Regions from separate parts of the Homo sapiens genome. Here region 2 is linked to region 1. Evidence: promoter capture Hi-C in 16 types of primary human blood cells and fetal thymus (Javierre and others, 2016). All regions are on one chromosome and are shown on one strand. The core of a region is centred on a gene start or on the middle of the fragment in contact, and the rest is flanking DNA. Distances in the headings are between cores, read along the strand shown.

Region 1 (3,191 bases), core at 408-2,907:
CAGCAGCAAGGAGTTGGCTGGGTGGTCTTGATACAGGAGGAGGAATAAGGGATTGTCACCTGGGATTCAGGCATGGCTTTCAGGGAGTATCCACAAACCCTCAGGGATTGCATGTAAAATTTTATGTACATGCCATATGCATTTTGCCCCAGGAAGAGGACTCACAGCTAATTCTCAAAAGGACCTATCACCCCTAATTTTTAAGAACCACTGAAATTAATATTTTCATCTGCTCCTCTCTTGCACTATTCAGCACTTCCACCTCATTAAACATTTATATATATATTATATATATTTCTATAATATATATATATAATTAATTAATTCCCTAAACTTTGCAGAAAAAAAATCGAAGCCCAGAGAGGGTAAGTATCTTGCCCAAGTTTGCACAGCTGATGGTCAGGATTGGGATTAGCAGCACTTCCCTGGTCAAGTGAAGCACGATTTCAGGTGGGAAATCTTGCCCGGTCAACTTGACAAATGAAGACAAAGTGATCCCTCCAGACTAATAATAATGTTTTGCAACCATTTTCAAGTCCAGTCATAGAATCCCCTACGTTGCTTGTTTTCAGGGCAGTGTGGGTTGCTTCCCCAGGATACAGGTAGAGGTCACTAAAAGGATAGTTTTCTACTCAAAGAGCCAGAACTCCAGCCCTTGCCTTCCCCTGCCGTAGCACTCGGGCCGGCCCTCCAGTTACCTGAGTTTGCCTGACTTTAACCAACTCCTCTTCCCTTCCCTCCTCCCTTCTCCAGCGGGCTCTCCTTCCAGCTTCCTCCCGGGCTGCAATTCCTCTGCCTAGGTGCCTCCGTCCAGCTCCGGCTTCTGGCCCGGAGGCTGCTCATCTGCCCCTACCCCCGCTGACTTTTGGGAGGAGCAACACCTTTCAGGTCAGCATTGCTAACCCTAAACTTTCCCCGCCGGATGCCCGCGAGGCTGCTGCGGCGGCGGCTGCTGCTGATGGGAGAGTCTCGAGTCCGGCTTTCATCACATCACCTGTCTGCGCCCCTTCCCCCTCCCCGCTCTTTTTTTCTTTTCTTTTTATTTTGACGCAAATAATTTGCATTCTGAGAATCCCACAATCAACGCCGAAACTCATGCTCAAGGATACAGGTGAAGATGCCTTTGACAAAGGCGAATGCGAGCCGAGTGCAGTTTGTAAAAGCTGGGGTTGGGGGCAGTGGTGGAGGCAAAGCACCTTAAGAGTATTTTTTAGCCCCTCTGAGAAGGGACATCCGGGCGGGAGGCGGGCGGATCCCGGGCTTCCCCGCCGGCTGCCGACTCTGGCTCCTGGCTGGCGTTCTCTCCAGGAGCCCGCGCCGGTGGCCCCGCTCTCCCCTTCAGCACGCGGGCCTCGAACCCGCATCCCGGAGAGCGGCCGCCCGCGCAGCCCCTGCCGCGCGCCGTCGGAGGCGGCCTCAGCTCGCCATGGGTACTCACTTTTGCCAGGGAGCAAAGTCTGCCACATCAGTCGATGAGTACTTCCTGCACGAGGACATGAAGCTCCATTGTGTGGAAAGCTGTTTCGCGAACGGTCGGTAAAATCCAGAAAGAGGGAGAAGGAGTGAGTAAGGCAGAAAGCCCAGCCCAGAAAACCGGCGTCTGGGGATTTCAGCCTCCGCTCCCCGGTCCCCAGCCCGGTGGCTCTGTGAGAAGAAGCTCAACTCGGTGCACTTGTTCACTCTTTCTTCATGAGAGGAGGAGTCAGTGTTGCAACATTTATGTTCCTTGCTGGAGGCAAAACAGTGATTTTCTTCAGCATGCAAAACGTCCAGAGCCTGCCAGTTTTAGAAGGCGACGGAGGTAGTTGGGGGAGCTGGAATCCTGCGAAGACCTGAAGAAACAACTGATTCCCCCCAGATCGGTTTTGCATGATTAGGGCCACATATCTTTCATTGAGACTGTACCAGAAAATAGACAGACAAAACAATAATAAAAATGACTTAGTGAGTTGAATGACCTCAAAGATGATATTTTTCCAGGCAGCCAAGATGTGGAGTGTCTCCGTGTCAAATTTCTTTCCTTATTTCTGAGTAACATTGAACAGCAGCTATATTTGAGAGGTTCTCCAGGGATTTGAATTGCACCTTGCCTGAGGAGTCAGATAGAAAGGAGCAAAAGAAGATAGTCAGTGACCTAAGAAGGTTTTGCTTTTTTTTTTTTTTAATACCCAAAGCGCAAACTTCTAGTGTGCTGTGTTTATTCTCTGCCATATGAATATAATAAACATTGGCGGTGCCTAAATAGCCCCACTTCTGTTGTTTTCCACAAATAAAGAATTTATCTTTTCTAATGGGCTGCATGTTGTTCTGACTTTTCTTCTTCTTGAAACCACACACAACCGCCTTTTCTCTTGCAAAAACAAAAACCCCACATTTAACAGTGCTGAAACAAATAATAGCACCTGCCTGAATCAAATAGTTATTTCTGACTATGTATGTTGCTGGTGTCATTTGATGCCATAATAATTAATGCATCCGATTGTTACACAACCCAGAGGGCCACCAAGGAAATACTTTAAACCAAGGTTACTGAGTTTTTTTTTTTGTTTGTTTTTGTTTGTTTTTTTGAGACAGAGTCTCGCTCTGTCGCTCAGGCTGGATTGCAGTGACCCCATCTCGGCTCACTGGAACCTCTGCCTCCTGGATTCAAGCAATTGTCCTGCTTCAGCCTCCCGAGTAGGTGGGACTACAGGCGCGTGCCACCATGTCCGGCTAGTTTTTTGTATTTTTAGTAGAGATGAGGTTTCACCCTGTTAGCCAGGATGGTCTTGATTTCCTGACCTCATGATCCACCCACCTTGGCCTCCTGAAGTGCTGGGATTACAGGCGTGAGCCACTGCGCCTGGCCGTTTTTTTTTTTGTTTTGTTTTAAGTTATTGAAACATGAGGCTTTCCCCTTTGATTTGACTGCTACTCTGGATAACTGGGAAATCACAGTTAGCAGTGAGCATTTGCCAAGCCACAGGAAGCCATTGAAAATCCCATGATGCTTTGGTGATCCTTTTGGACTGGAATCCCAGAAGCAACTACCTAGGCATAATAACCTAATACTTCCTGATCAATAACACGTCCTTATTAAAACATAGACTCCACCTGGTTCTGTTAGCTGATGGGAGATGCATCTTTCACGTGCAGACCGCACATGCTTCCTGTGATGATTAGGGTATATTTACTTTCATTCATGGGTGTCC
Region 2 (3,565 bases), core at 625-3,124, 210 kb after region 1:
ATGTGGATGAATTTGAAGTGCATATTGCTAAGTGAAAGAAGGCAGTTTGAAAAGGCTGCATATTCTATAATTCCATTAGTATGGGAAACTGGAAAGGCAAAATTATAGAGATAATAAACATATCAGTGGTCACTAGGATTTGGGGGTAGGGAGGTTAATAGCACAGGGGATTTTCTAGGACAGTGAAACTATTCTCATATAATGCTGTAATGATAGATATATGACATGCATTTATCAAAACACAGAACCTTCCAGCACAAGGAGTAAACCTTAAGGGATGCAAATAAAAGAAAAAGTTTAGGAGGTTGGGGAATCCAAAGATGGAAGAATGCAGAATGTGACAAGATAATCTAACTGTATTACAAATGTACAAAATAACCTCACTAAAGGGGAGGGGATGAAATGGTGCTGACCTAAGTGACTTTGGAAACGAGTGGAATCTGTAAGATAAAAAGCAAAAGAAACTATAAATAAGCAGTGTACTCTAGTAAATAGAGTTTCTTCCCATGAGGGTATGGGTTTACAATTCTGAAACCACTATATGTGTACACTGGAAATGAACAATAAAGTAAATTTATGGCAGATGTTGGAAGACCAGTTTCTCACAGTTGGAATGTGAGGCTTATAGATAAGCAAGAGGAGCAGGAAACTAGAACAATCGATGTAGCAATGGATTAGAGTTGGAAATATCAGTATAAACTCATTCTTAGCTTAATATAAATATACTGGCTAAATATATACTTATTTATAGACATACATATATACATGTATTAGTATACACACATATTTTTCTTTCTCTTAGCTGAGAGGGCCTGGAAGGAATGAACATACTTAGCACCCAGAACTTGGTTACTAACACTAGATAAACACAAATTTAAAAACTGAGATCTCTTTGGAGAAATGGCTGATTCTATACTGGCAGAAAATATAAAAGATAAGCTTTGAACATCTTGAAGTGGCAGAAAGTAAGGAAGTGCTAAAAGCATAAAGCCAAAACTAACAAAAAACCAAAATGACATAGGAGCCAGCTGAAAGAGTTCCCACTGGACAAAGCTAGAACAATCTGAGCAGCAACATAAAGTACTATTGAATTATAACTCACACTATAAAATCAATATCCATGAGTCCACACTTACTTAAATAAATAATTGGACGGGTAAGTAAGTAAATGGGGAAAGAATAGAAAAATTTCCCATACAGAAGAATTCCAAATAATTTGTTTTTATAGATACTTGGCCTTCAAGGAGATGAAGCATTAGAGCATAACTCCTCATTCCTTAAGTGTGAGCTATGCTTTGTGAGTTCCTTCCAAAGAGTATGGTATGGAGAAGGAAAAGAAAGAGTAAATTTACAGTGGAGAAGCCTTACAGACACTGCCTGATTCAGCTGATCAAGGTCAACATCAACAAGTCATGTCAGTAGTATGTACTCTTGATATGATGTGATGAAAATGCTACTGTGGCCTCCCTCTTCAAATTCCACAATGCTAATCTAGTTATAGGAAAGCATCAGACAAAGCCCAATAGAGGATCACTCTACAAAATACCTAACCAGTACTCCTTAAAACTTTCAAGGTCATCAAAAATAAGGAAAATTCAAAAAACTCACAGCTAAAAGGAGCCTAAGGAGACCTGATGACCAAATGTAGTGGTATCTTGTGTGAGAGCCTGAAACAGACACAGACGTTAGGTAAAAATTAAGGAAATGTAAAAAGGATGGACTTTAGTTAATAATGTATCAATAATTTGTTCACTAATTGTGACAAATACACCATACTAATGTAATACATAATTAATTGGGGAAGCTGAGTATGGAGTATACAGGAACTCTCTGGACCATCTTTGAAAATTTTCTGTAAATATAAAACTATTTTAAAAGGAAGTATTTTAAAAAATAGAACTTATAATGAGATGTCACTACATACATTCCTATCAGATGGACTAAAATAAAAAGTTATGACTATACCAAGTGCTAGTGAGCACGCAAATCTATTAGAATATTCAAACACTGTTGATGGGAATGTAAAACATTACAGCCATTTAGGAAGTCAGTTTGGCAGTTTCTTATAAAGCTAAACAAACATTTACCATATGACCTAGCAATCTCATATCTAGATGTTTACTCTAGAGAAATTAAAACTTATGTCCATACAAAAACCTGTGCACTAAATTTTATAGCATGTGTATTTATAATCACCAAAAACCTGGAAACCCATTATCCCTCAATGGATAAATAAATAAATAAATTGTGGTGTATACATACAATAAAATGCTGCTAAAAGAAATCTCAAAAGTTTAAATACCTTGCAATTCAATTTCTATAGTATAGAATTTTAGGAAGAAAATGGCAGATAGGAGACAGGGCTAACATGTAGTTCCCACTTGTATAGACAGAACAGCATGTGGAGACACACTGTGAACTTTTGCTCCAAGAACCACCACAGGAATGTACCGGGAAAACTGAAAGAATTCACAGATCCTTTGAAAGAAGTGGCATGCCACTGCAAATTCCCAAAGACGGGCAAAAAACTGTGAGCTCCCAAAATGTGAGCGGGGGAAAACCTGCCTCTAAACACATACCCCCACTGGGGAATCTGAACATCTGGATTACAGGAGAAGGATTTAACCTTACCTAGTGCTTAAACAGATTTAGAGAGCCGCATGAAATATAAAAGTAGAAGCAGCAGTGGAAAGAGCCTTGTAGGTACTCCCAGTCTCCCTCTTGAGCCCAGGGAAGCCAACCCTGACTCTATTCCACAAGGGCCTCAGGGAAGGCAGCCAGCAGAATTAAGGAGGGCACACAGGGTGAAGGAAGCTTTCAACTAAATTAGTAATAATATCGACAGGGCATGAATTTTCCTGAGCAGAATATGGGCGTTGAGTGGGAACTGCTGCAGATACGAGTGCAGGAGCCACCACTCACAATGTGGGCAGACTGGGAAGGATGAGGTCTGAAAGACATGCTTGCTTTCTCAGTGGGGAAGCTCACAGCCTGGGGCAAGTTCTCATCAGGGCACTGTGGGATTGAGATTAGCCTTGCCAACTGAGTGGGAGTAGAGTGAGGCCTCTCACTACCGGCTATGCTCCACTTCCCTTGTGAACTATATGACAAAGCAGAGGCAGCCATCATCCCCTCTGGAACATAACCCCACTGGCCTGAGAACCACCCCTCATACCCTACAGTGGCTGCAGCAAACCCTACCCAAGGAGAGTCTGAGCCCAGTGCTGTCTAAACCCGCCCACACCTGATGATATTTCTATACCTAATCTAGTAGCTGAACACAAAAGACAGAAACACTTGGGAGCTTTATGGCCCCACCCATTGCCTGAGAAATCAGAATACTTCCCCTGACCAACTTGAGGCAGGCTCATATTCCTCTACTACTACAGCAGCTGGTGCTTTCTTGAAAGTGCCACCTGCTGGCTGGAGGCCAACCAACTCAGGCCATTACAGCAACTCATGACAGAATAACCCAGCTCCTAGGAAGGAAGAAATAACAGCTAATTCCACAGCCTGCAACATCCTGAGTAAACAGAGGTCCTGAGTGTCTCCACATGAAAACTAA

Evidence for each region. Contacts are between HindIII fragments. The CHiCAGO score rates a contact against its expected background, and 5 or more counts as called.
Region 2: a fragment that was not itself captured here is called in contact with the fragment with the promoter of PRLR in region 1 in 1 of 17 cell types (monocytes); the score reaches 6.6 in monocytes.

What each region holds. Positions count from the first base shown.
Region 1 is chr5:35,228,830-35,232,020 of GRCh38, forward strand. It overlaps PRLR (prolactin receptor), which reads right to left and starts at 1,658. Exons shown (of 10, transcript NM_000949.7): 1 at 1,439-1,658. The HindIII fragment of the contact is 6,146 bases long and covers 1-3,191 here.
Region 2 is chr5:35,441,010-35,444,574 of GRCh38, forward strand. No RefSeq gene overlaps it. Among named protein-coding and RNA genes, the nearest start is that of SPEF2, 180 kb to the right of the region's middle. The HindIII fragment of the contact is 1,875 bases long and covers 938-2,812 here.